Regions from separate parts of the Homo sapiens genome. Here region 2 is linked to region 1. The links are contacts of gene promoters, found by promoter capture Hi-C in blood cells and fetal thymus (Javierre and others, 2016). All regions are on one chromosome and are shown on one strand. Each heading gives the region's core, a stretch centred on a gene start or on the middle of the fragment in contact. The rest is flanking DNA. Distances are from core to core; before and after follow the strand shown. Region 1 holds the start of KIF21A (kinesin family member 21A). Region 2 overlaps SLC2A13 (solute carrier family 2 member 13).

Region 1 (6,094 bases), core at 2,113-4,612:
TCTCAAATATACTGTAAAAAGGTATTTTTGGAAATTGAATAAAAATTGTTCTCCCTAAATGAGAATCTTTCTGTTTAACATCTTTCTCCCAAAGCCTTAAATGACCCATTTCCTTATCTTGAGAAATCTACAATAGAGTCATCAGCTTTAACATACTAATAAACCTCTAATAAAACATAAGCACCTCTAGGATGCATTTCCACAATTATATTATTCATTAAAGGAAAAAAAGCAGGTCAAATGCTTTTGATTTTGTATATAGACACACGATTTTGTATTGATTTATTTATTCTGCTGAGGAACCCTTCTCAAACTGAAGGGTAGGGTAACAGGAAGCTGGAAAGATTAAATAATTTGAGGAAATATTTTAGTAAGTTCAGGTCCTGTCTTAGTTCTATCTTTTCTAGCAATATCAAAATATGAATAACCTGTGAAAGCCACTCATTTGTAAATGAACTAATACAAAATCAAGAACAGGCAACTGACCCAAAGCTAAGTGAAACTTTGCAAAGCCATGTTCTTGCCTCTCACTTCCGCAGGGTTAATGGTTAAGAACTTGGGCTACTGAGTCAAGCTATCTGGGTTGGAACCCTGGCTCTCTCATTTGTTACCAATTTAACTTTGGATGGTTTACTTAATCTTTCTGTGCCTCATCTGTAAATGGCCATAATAACAGGACCTAAGTCACAGATTGTTATGAGGAATAAATAAGACTTTACATGAGATAAAACATCTTAACACAGCACTAATCCCGGCACACAGTATAAGTCAAACAATTATCACTACTTTTAGCCCAGAAATCAGGATAACAGAGACGGGTATATATCTTCAATAAATAATGGTTATAAATGAACAATATAAGTCCAAACACTTTATAAATACTAAAGTGCTATATGAGTATAAGCTATTTTTATCCTATATAAAGTAAGTTTACAAGGTAGCTCTGTTCAGAGAACAATGTATTTAATGAAAGAAATCCCCGATTTATCCAGGCGCAGTGGCTAATGCCTGTAATCCCAGCAATTTGGGAGGGACGGCTTGAGCCCAGGAGTACAAGACCACTCTGGGAAACATAGGGAGGCCCCATATCTACAAAAATGTATAAAAATTAGCCAAGCAGTGTGGCACATGCCTGTGATCTCAGCTACTCAGCAGGCTGAGATTAGAGGATTGCTTGAGCCCATGAGGTTGAGGCTGCAGTGAGCTATGATGGCACCACGACACTCTAGCCTGGGTGACACAGCAAAACCCTATCTCAAAAAAAAGAAAGAAGAAAGGAAAGAAGAGAGAAAGAGAAAGGAAAGAAGGAAGGAAGGAAGGAATCCTGAATTCAACAAATTGAATCTTTACAATATGGCTTACTAAGTTATGTTGAAGTTTTTATAAAGCCTTTCCCCAAAAATCAAACCCACATTCATTCACCTAAAAAGTCCTAACATACACACCAAAACAAAATACAAGTTATTTATCAGTCAGCATCACTTTAGGGTCATCCATGGCTCTACAGGCAAAGAAGCATCGGATTTAACAGAATGGTCAACAAACTGCCTTGTGATAGTCTAGAGAATTCACATATAAAAATCTCAAACGTCTAAAAACAGACAAATTGTCTGTTTTCAGTAATATTTTATGCACCTTCTTCACTTTCCTTGATCAGATCTCCTAACAAAATTGCCTCTTATTGGGTTTTCTGTCTTTTTCCTTCCCCTTTCTCCACCCTGGTGCAGTCATTAACTGGTATTAAAGGGCCAAAAGAGAGGTAGTAGCAGTGAATAGGAGAAACAGACTAATCTAACAATTGGATAAGTAGCCCTAGAATAACGAAGAAGGCCTAATTAAAACTTCAAAAGCCTTATAACAGGTGATTCTAACCAGTCATAAAACTGTCACCTCCCTGGGTGGTAAAAAAAAAAAAAAAAAAAACACTTAAAAACTCATTTTATTATTTAAGTTAATTAAAGATACAAAGTATACGAAACAGCCATTACTATGCCTGACCCAAGATGTGTCACTAAAATAGTAACTATAGAAATGTTTAGAGGGGAGAATTTTTAGAATAATTTTCTGGAAAGACTACAAGACTGGGAGATTGTTAATAGTTCCTAATTCCTTGGAGTGTAGATTATTTTTATAATCCTTAAAGCATAAATAAGGAGAAGTGAATTAACAGTAGACTCTCAGAGCTGTGAAAGCCACGCACTTACTCTAGGATGAATGCTTCATTAATTTTTCACACAGTGTGATGATGTTGCAATTTTCCATGAGCAACTATCAGAGCTTTCCTTCTTGATAAGTATCAAAACAGCCGAAATTACATCGAATACTCGTGCCTGTCATTGGCCGAAATATAATTTCAATACTAGGATGTACCTAGTATTTCCAGACTCACACCCTGGCCTGGGTAACGTTACGATTACATTGTATCCACCCTGCCTAATGTCAGTATGTTTCACACAGTCACCCATTTCACCCTTCCTCTGGCTAAAGAGTTTTCCTCCTTCTGTAGACCTCTCCCCAGTGGATTTTACCTTAAATTCCACTCCCATTCCAACACCCAAGAGGCTAGATCTGTCTCCTCTACCCACACGCGGGGGCATGTCTAGATCCCCGTGATGCTGAAAAAGATGTCTCATTTGCACAGACATCAGAACCCGAGTGGGCGCGCGGCGGGCCCTGCGGTCGCCGGCGCTGATAGTCAGATGCTTTGTCTCCTGCCTGGGAAGGCCGGAGCTGCATGGACACGTATGACAGACATTCTAGAACTAATAAAAAAGAACACCACAGCCCCGCGCACAGGCAGCTCCTCCCGGACAGGCGATAGCCCAAGGCGGCCAGACCTGAGGTGACTGATCCCGCGAGGGGACGGAGGGGAGTGACGAGGGCTTTTCCCCCAGAGAAGTCAAGACGCCCCCCAGGGACCCGGCGCCGCGCAGCCGCCAGCCACCTGCAAACACAGACGGCGTGAGGGCGGCGCAGTCGCCCTGCCAGCACCCGGCCGCGCGTGCCAGGCCAGCGGGGACTCACTGCCTCAGTTTCCTCAGCCGCAGAACCCGGCCGGGACGCCCCTCAGGTCGCTCCACCCCGGTAGCCGGTGCTCCGCGCCACAGCCAGGTCCTTGCCGCGCCCTCAACCCGCCGCCCGCCGCCCGCCGCCGGCAGACTGTCCTCACCTGACAGCCACCCGCACGGAGCTCTCGTCCGGGGCGCCCAACATGCTGGCGGCGGGCAGCGATCGAGCCGTTGGGCCTCGGCACCGCAGAGCTGAGGCGCCACTGGGGCCGCGGGACTCGGGCGCAGTAGGCTGGGGCGTCTGCGGGCGGGCGGCCGGCTCACCTCCGCCGCGCTCCAGCCATGTTGGGCGACTGAATGGAAAGGTGGCGGCGGCGCTGAGGCAGCAAGAGGAGGAGGTGATTCACGGCTCGCGGGCGCCCGCCCCTTCTCCACCGCTCACCCCCCAGGATCTGGGGCGGGGACAAAGCGCGCTTGAACGGCGAGCGCGCCTGTGGAGAAGCCAACAGGCCGCCAGCGGCCTCAGGGCGGCCGGGTGAGTGCGCCCTGCCCCCTCCGGTGGGGACGCGGCCTCCCAGCGGCCAGGCTGGGGACTCCACGCCCGCCAGGGCGCTCCGGGCTCCTCGCCCCGCACTGCGTCAGCCGCCGCCGCGCGGCTCAGCCCCACCTCGCCCTCCCCCAGCCTGCGCCCCGCCCTGCCCTCGTCGGGACACTGCCTGGCGCTGCTGGGCAGGGAGGCGAGGGGGAGGGATGCCTGCCGCCGGCTGCCCTCGCCCGAGGGCGACCAGCCTGTGCGCCCTTCCAGGCTCTTCTGGGAGAAGGAAGCAGCTAGTGCACGCGCTGCTGCCAGGTCCCTTCTCAAATCGAAGCTTGATTCAGCGGCGCGCCGGGAGCCAGGCAGCTGCTGCTGCGGTTCGGCTTTGTGTCCCACGCATAGCCTTATTGTCCTCTCTGCAGCTTGGACTTTGACCCCCTTCCCTAGCCCCCAGCTGAACGCCCTCCCTCCTCCCTCCCCGGAGTCAGTCATTCATGCTAAACGGACTCCCAGGTTTGTCCACTGTCTCTGGACAGCTGGGCTGTTCTACAGTTCATCGCCCGTTTACCAGCTCGGGTGGGATATGGAAATGATTTATTCGAGACTCCTGAATGCTTTTCTGTTCAATCATTTGTACACTGGTAAATGAACTGCACCCTGGTACTGCCAAGTGTTCCCAGAACTGAATATATCCACCAAGACCTGCTGTGTAGTAAATCCTTCCAAACTGATTTTCTTTCCCTTCTGGCCTTTAAAAAGCACCTCCCAATCCCAGGATTCTCTCAACATTGACCCATTGTGGTTTCTGTTTGTCACTATTGTGCTTCCACATGCCTTCAGATAGCTCTGTGGAAACAGCCTTTATTAGCTTTGCCACAGAGTATCTTTTGTGGACTGCTCCATACATCTCTATAAACAAACATGTGGCTTCATACGAAATAGTATCACAAATTAAATGGCACTATCCAAATAAAGGCACTACCTCAAATGCCTGCAATCTACAATCACATACCTAATCATCTTGTTCAGCAGTGATACAGCAGTGTGGCTCAGAGAAGGCTGCAACACTATGGGAAAAACAAGAAGTGTTTGATGATTTAAACCCATGGGAAGGCCGATGGGGTATATAATTATAGATAGTTTTAAATTTATTCTGTCCCTTAATCTCACTACCCCTAAATCTTAACAGACATGTAACTGGGAGGTAAAGAGGGCAGAGATGCTGAGTATCCTTCTATAGATCAAATTGGTGGGAAAGCTCTCCTCTGGCTACTCTTTGGAGGGCCTTTCCTAGCCTCAAAATTTATCCATCAACAAATCAGAGCTGCATTTCACCCTGCCCTGGCAAGCCCATATCTGGGTGGATCTGGGCTGGCCACCTTGCTTCTTTTGTTGATGAAAGCTGCAAGGAAAGCAAGAATGGCCCAGCACATTTAACAAGAAAACTAAAGAGAAATTTGTATAATTAAGACCCTCTTTTTAAAAAAAGTTCTTTTTTATTTTATTTTATTTTGAGACAAAGTCTTGCTCTGTCACCAGGCTGGAGTGCAGTGGCGTGATCTCGGCTCACTGTAACCTCTGCCTCCCGGGTTCAAGCGATTCTTCTGCCTCAGCCTCCTGAGTAGCTGGGACTACAGGCGTGTGCCACCATGCCCAGCTAATTTTTGTATTTTTAGTAGAGACAGAGTTTCACCGTATTGGCCAGGCTGGTCTTGAACTCCTGACCTTGTGATCCACCCGCCTCGGCCTCCCAAAGTGCTGGGATTACAGGCATGAGCCACCACACCCAGCCTATTTTATTTTTTGAGACAGTGTCTCGCTCTGTCATCCAGGCTGGAATGCAATGGTGTGATCTCAGCTCACTGCGACATCGACATCCTCCTCCGGGGTTCAAGGGATTCTCGTGCCTCAGCCTCCGGAGTAGCTGGGATTTCAGGCATGTGCCAACACATCCAGGTAATTTTTGTATTTTTAGTAGAGATGGGATTTCACCATGTTTACCAGGCTGGTCTCAAACTCCTGACCTCAAGTGATCCGCCCACCTCAGCCTCCCAAAGTGCTGGGATTACAGGCATGAGCTACCTCACCTGGCCAAAAAAAGTTCTCATTTTAAATAACAATAGTATACATATATGTCTCAGTAAGGGGAGTCACAAACACAAATGCCTACAGGAGCCAGGCAGGTAGCTCAAAAGAGCAGAGCAAGATGAATACTATGATAAAGGTGAGGACTATCATAAAATAGAGACACAGGCCCCTTCCAAAGGTGGTGGCCATCCTCAGCTCTGGCTGAATATTGCCTTGATGAAATGCAAATCCAATGCTGCCAAGATTTTTATTTCTTGTATGTATGTTGCTTCTCAAGAAAAAGAGAAAAACAGATCTTTATGAAAAAACTCCTTAGTTTTAAACACCAACGACTAATTCAGCACAATATTTACATATGCTGCAAACCAGACAAAATATGTCTCAGGCCAACTTTAGTCCCAAGACACCAGGCTGGAACTTCTGGACAAAATATTAGCACCAATAACAGCTGTGGCTTTGGGTT
Region 2 (5,861 bases), core at 1,040-3,539, 590 kb after region 1:
CTTTCTACATTAACTAACCAGAAAATAACTGTGCTTTGGATTTATATGACAATATCTTAGGTAACAACTCTTCTGGGTCATTTAGCTCTGCAAATTTACTTGCTCAGTAATTCCTTCCAACCAAACCATTCATTATTCTAGATATAACTGGACCGTCTCTTCTGGAAGAGTCCTCGGATGAGAGCTACAGAGATCAGCTCACAAAAATATGTACTTCTGGCCTCTTCCCCTTAAGATGTTAACTGGTATAATTTAATCTGTTATTTAAATGTATGTTTTATTGCTGTAAATCAATAAAACTTCCATCTGAGCTGTGTCAAAGACATGTTTATACTATATTGCTCATTATTTAAAAGGGATTTTTCAAGGTAGACCCTAAATATACTGGATTAGGAAATAAATTTTAAAAGTCCTAAAGGTGAAAGCCTTTATGTTTCATTTATCTACACTTCTCATGATCTTTCCAAAGAAAGATCATGAATTAAGATAGAAAAGCAGCAGATAATACTTCAAAAAGCACTGAAATGAATGTAGAAACTGAATCATTTTCAGGTCCAAGATGCTCACATAATATTTTGCACTCTGCTACTTGCTATTAAATCCCAGGATGCAGTATTTTTACAAGTTTTTTTTTAAACAGAAAAAAAGACAAGGGAAGAGAAGAGAAGAGAAAAGAGAAGACAAAAAGAAAAGGAAAATACAGACATATATATTAGCCTGTGTTTCTTAAGTGAGCTACAGAAGACAGAATAGGCCTTCCCACCTTTTGAAATCTGTGCAAGAGTCTGGGTCCGAAATGTACAATTCCGTTGCCCTAACGTGTGGAAAAGGAATTTGTACCCTCCTGCCAATCCTTAAGCATATTAAAGCTTCTTTCTAGAGATTAGTCAATAAAAAAATGTTTTATACGTTTGTATCCTAATACTTCTAAAAGTAAAATGAGAAAGCTTATTTTGTTTTAATTACCTTTCACGATGAAAATATTTTGATATGAATAATTTTCATGGCTTTGAAGAAATGCAATACACAAGATCAGAGCTTATATGACAGAGAGGACACAGGAATGGATGTGGGTGTCACTTCAGCTCCGGGCATACAAACCACAAGAACCTGGTCAAGTTACTTACACCATTTTATTTATTTATTTATTTTTTTAGATGGAGTCTCACTCTGTTGCCCAGGCCGGAGTGTAGTGGCGCGATCTCGGCTCACTGCAACCTCCGCCTCCCGGGTTCAAGCAATTCTCCTACCTCAGCCTCCTGAGTAGCTGGGACTACAGGTGCGTGCCACCACGCCTGGCTAATTTTTGTATTTTTAGTAGAAACAGGGTTTCAAAATATCAGCCAGGCTGGTCTCAAACTCCTGATCTTGTGATCCGCCCACCTTGGCCTCCCAAAGTGCTGGGATTACAGGCACGCGCCACTGCTTTCGGCCAAGTTACTTAACATTTTAACACACAGGTGACAGTATCTATTTCATAAGACTGCTGGGGGAATTAAGTGAAATCATTCACCAAGGCAGAGAGGATGCTCGGAAAAAATGTTTCACCTCCCTGAACTCCTAACCACGCAATCAATTCACTGTAACGTGTTTGTTCTGGCTGTATCACCCAACTAAATTTTCAGCAGGTACAACTAACCAATTTCTTTCTTAAGAAAAACATTCCTCTAACGATGTGCAGACTGGAGAATAGGAAAGATAAATAAGAGGCTGTTTTGCTGTGGTACTAATAAAAATTTCAACATGAGACAAAAAGAGAAGGCTCTTCATAAACTAAACTAAGGCAGTAGTAGGACTACCAGTCCTCTAAATCCAAGGAAAGCAGGAATTAGATGAATGACAGAGTATTGTGATACACTGGGGCAGGCAGTCCCCAGAAAAGCAAGTAGTCTCCTATTGATACAAGAGATCTCATTATTCTAAATTAAGTCAGGGTTTCTAAACCTGGCTTCACATTAGAATCACCTAGGAGGCTGGTAAAACCCACCAGTTTCCAGGCCCCACCCTTCCCCAGGGATTTTGATTAATTGATCTGGACTCTGGGCCCAGGGAGTTGTTTTATTAAAAGCTCTCCAGGTGGTGCTAATGTGCAGTTGTGGCTGAGAACCAAGGATCTAAATGTTTTTAAAACCCAGGGTAAACATGAACAACAAGCACCCAAGGTCCACACCTTACGGCAAAAGCCATTTACCTTCTACGGACAAGCAAGCGCACCAGACAAACACACAGTCAAGCAGACATGCCAAGCTCTCATGAGTTTTTAAATCTTTAGTATGTTCTTTACCATCATGATCACTCATCTAAAGATTTAAAATTTTCTAAACTTACAGTTACAAAATGAACTATTTTCTGGCACAGCTAGCAGTACCAGCACCTGCCTACCAAAGCAGGCCATTTAAAGGCAGAGGAATACTTCCAAAAGACAAGGTTAGGCCAGCTGTCAACAAAGAACAATCCCACCAATTTCACCTCAGGTTAAGCCTTCTCAATTCCAGAGATGGAAGCTCTGTGAATGGTGGATCCTGCATTCCTGGGGCCAGACCTCCTGCTATGGCTCAGCTGAGCAAGCCTGCTGTCTCTTCCATCAGATGGCCAGGGGCCTCACAACAAACCAAACAGGTTCTTCACTGAACTAAACATTCACTCTCATTCCTGTTTTAAAGCAATCCTGCTGCTCTCACCTATGTAACTAACGACAATAATCCTCTCATATCTGCTTCCTTAAGTTACAGAATTTTGCACTTCACGATCATTGACCTCCTCTCTGAACTGATAACATGAGTTAGCATGTTATCTGCTCTTTCGTAGTTCCAGAGGTGTGATGATTATGTTCCAAATATGTGAAAATCTAGTTGAATGCACAATCTCAGCATAGACATGTAATTGTTTAGTAACAACAATACTAATAGCAATAGTAACAGCTAATGTGTAGCACCAGTTACCGTGTGCCAAGCACTGTTCAGAACAGTTAGGAAACATTTACTCCCATGATTTCACAACAACCCTATGAGGCGAGTGCCATTATTATCCCCACTTTATAGACAAAGCAATGAGGCACAAAGAAGATACATGGTTAGTATGCAACAGAACTACAGTTAAAATCCAGGAAGTCTGGCTCCTACAATAAATGTTTATTGTAAGTCAAGCTATATTAACTGTTCAATAATTACTTGATAATTAATTCTGTAGAACACATTAAAAAGTGCATTAATTTACCTTAGCTTCATGTTTAAAGAATTCAGAGGTTCCCTTTGGAAGTATTATTCCCTCACCTCTGTTAAATGCAGTAAAACACTGCAGAAATAACAAAGCAAAAGCAAAAGCAAAGCTGGCTGGCTGGGAGCTGTCACTCCTAATTGTGCCCAGCACAGGTGCCCAACACAGTACCACCCACTGGGCTGGGTAACTGCAAGCTGGATTTAAATAACACAGAACTGCTAGGAGGAAATGGAATATCCTGTGATTTTCTCAACACCTATCCTTACTAAATCAAAACTCCCTAAGAGCATTACTGTTAAAATAGCTGACTACTAGTTAAAATACCTCATGTGTAAAGGGTAAATTTGTACTGCTTCTTTTGACCACTGTGCCAAACTAAAGTTTTATTTAATGTTTCTTTAACATACACTAGTAAGCTTTTCATACAGGAAAAATTTGGATAACAAGAAGGTAGGTATTTTTAAAAAAAACCATTAGGAGCAAAAATATTCGACTGCAAGATTTTAAAGGATTTGATCCTTTGAAAATATTTTCTATGATGAATATGATAGATCGAAAGTTGCTTTCTCTTTATTTTTCAATCTCTGCATCCCAAAGGTTTCCCCAAGCCTCACTCCTCCTGAAGAAATTGTACAGGAGTGAACAACTGCATCCCGCATTTGTGCTCTGTTTCTTTCCCTTCTCCCCTATGTTCCTGTTCCTCCTTAACCCAAATGACATGAAAAAGTTGCCAATGCCTTACACTGGAAGATCTATATGATCTGTGGTTTTCATTTTAAGTCAAGCTGTAATGGAAAAACTATCCTAGTTAAGGGAAGTTTATTACACTACATTGTATTTTTTAAAAACATGCAATTGTTTTTGTAGCCCTTGAGGAGCTGAATTCTACTAAGAGAAGACACTTTTCACTTTGAGAGGCACAGTAAAGGTTTTCAGACACCATACTCATTTAGTCAATTATCCTCCCAACAGGCCATGAAAGCATTAAGGTACAGGTCAACTATCACTTCCTTACTGGTTTCCCAACTTCATGTTGTCAAAACTGTGGTTCCAAGCAAAATAACCACCTCATACTTTTTAGTCACAGTTAATCTTGATACTTTCTGAAACACTAAGATTGGCTCACTGACAATCTCTGAAATGTCATCCTGAGTACAGTGGGGCTTTCTAGCAAATTCTCTAATAATATCCAATACTGTCTTAAACTAAAAAAAGGAAATGAAAAAACTGTATCTGTAATTCCAATTAAGTTTTATTTCCACTCTGTCTTCTGGCTTGCACTTTTGCTATTGATTAACAAATCATGTCCATGTTAGCCCATTCTGAATAGCTCAGAGGAATATTATAAATATTAAGATGATGTATTCTTTAAAATTCTATAGCTTCAAGTTGGTATTCTTTCACAAATAACTATAAAATAAACTCAAAATCTTTTTTTCCTGCATTAGTTCACGGAAAATAAAAAGGGTTAGCAATTAGAATCAATAGATTCTTTGAAAACACTAACTAATGAAGATGTATTGTGTTTGCTTGGAAAGCTAAGCCTTGTGATTTCTCTGAGCTGTTACTCAGCTATTTACCCAGCAAATATCTCCTGAATGTATGTTAAATGCCAAGCACTACAGCTAATCACTGAGCATCATGAATAAACTTACCCAGAGATGGCATCCCCCCGAGCTGGAACTTTCCAATGATAAACAGGACAGTGAAACATTTTCCCCTTAAAAAAGCATAACTCAAACCCCTTCAACCTCATCCAAGAACACTGTGCCCTCAGTCTAACATCCAGAGCTATCCAACTACATTGTTCAATGTTCCAATGAATTTTGAATTTTTCATATACTGAAGGAATAATCACATGAGTGATGTGTTTACTGAAAGATCTCTATCCATGGATTTACAAAAGAAATGGTCATCGTTATTGATCAATAACTAGATATTTACATGATAACATGGTCACCAAAGTTATGATTTATGTAATATGTTTCTACTTAATGCAAAAGTTTTAGATGCAAACAGATAACACTGAATTTAGCCAGTTGCTAGAGTTATGTTACAGCAACTTACTTGGTAACATATTTTTAAATTTTAGTTCATGCTTCACAAGTCTATTTTAGCAGAAAAGAAAACATTGCCACATTGAGATCCCAGGCTGGAAAGTTACTTTTCCTCTGCCACCAAGGACCATGTAAGACATGCACCCTGATGACTGATACACTTGATAATCAGATGGCAGCTAGAGAATAAACATAAGACCATGGCTGAAGGTACCTAAGAAAAATTTCAATGTGCACAGATGGAATCTTTCACGTTAAAAGCAGGTAATATATGATCCGCAAATGATCAACACCTGTGTTACCTCGAGAAAGATTCTGTATACACTGTAAACAAACAAACCCTAATTGCCAGGTAAGTAAACATAACAAAATATTAACCCTGTCTACATAGCTTAGAAGAAGACTCCACCAAGTAAACTAATATCAGCATATAAGTGGCTTGGCCAGGGTTATTTAAAATGTCATGATTATAGTGGAAGAAGTAAAATATGCTCTGACAGAATGTGATATCGTTGAAATCAATGAATATGGCATTTTGCACAAATATTAAGTAGTTTTAAACTGCATGGTAAAATACGTTAAGAC

The links. Contacts are between HindIII fragments. The CHiCAGO score rates a contact against its expected background, and 5 or more counts as called.
Region 2: a fragment that was not itself captured here is called in contact with the fragment with the promoter of KIF21A in region 1 in 1 of 17 cell types (non-activated CD4 T cells); the score reaches 6.3 in non-activated CD4 T cells.

Annotation. Positions count from the first base shown.
Region 1 is chr12:39,439,758-39,445,851 of GRCh38, forward strand. KIF21A (kinesin family member 21A) reads right to left here and starts at 3,363. Exons shown (of 38, transcript NM_001173464.2): 1 at 3,170-3,363. The coding sequence starts at 3,213. RefSeq lists enhancers at 2,304-2,373, 3,192-3,692, 3,974-4,033 and a silencer at 2,994-3,893. The HindIII fragment of the contact is 8,179 bases long and covers 1-3,875 here.
Region 2 is chr12:40,030,087-40,035,947 of GRCh38, forward strand. All of the region lies in intron 2 of SLC2A13 (solute carrier family 2 member 13), which reads right to left. Among named protein-coding and RNA genes, the nearest start is that of SLC2A13, 73 kb to the right of the region's middle. The HindIII fragment of the contact is 2,688 bases long and covers 946-3,633 here.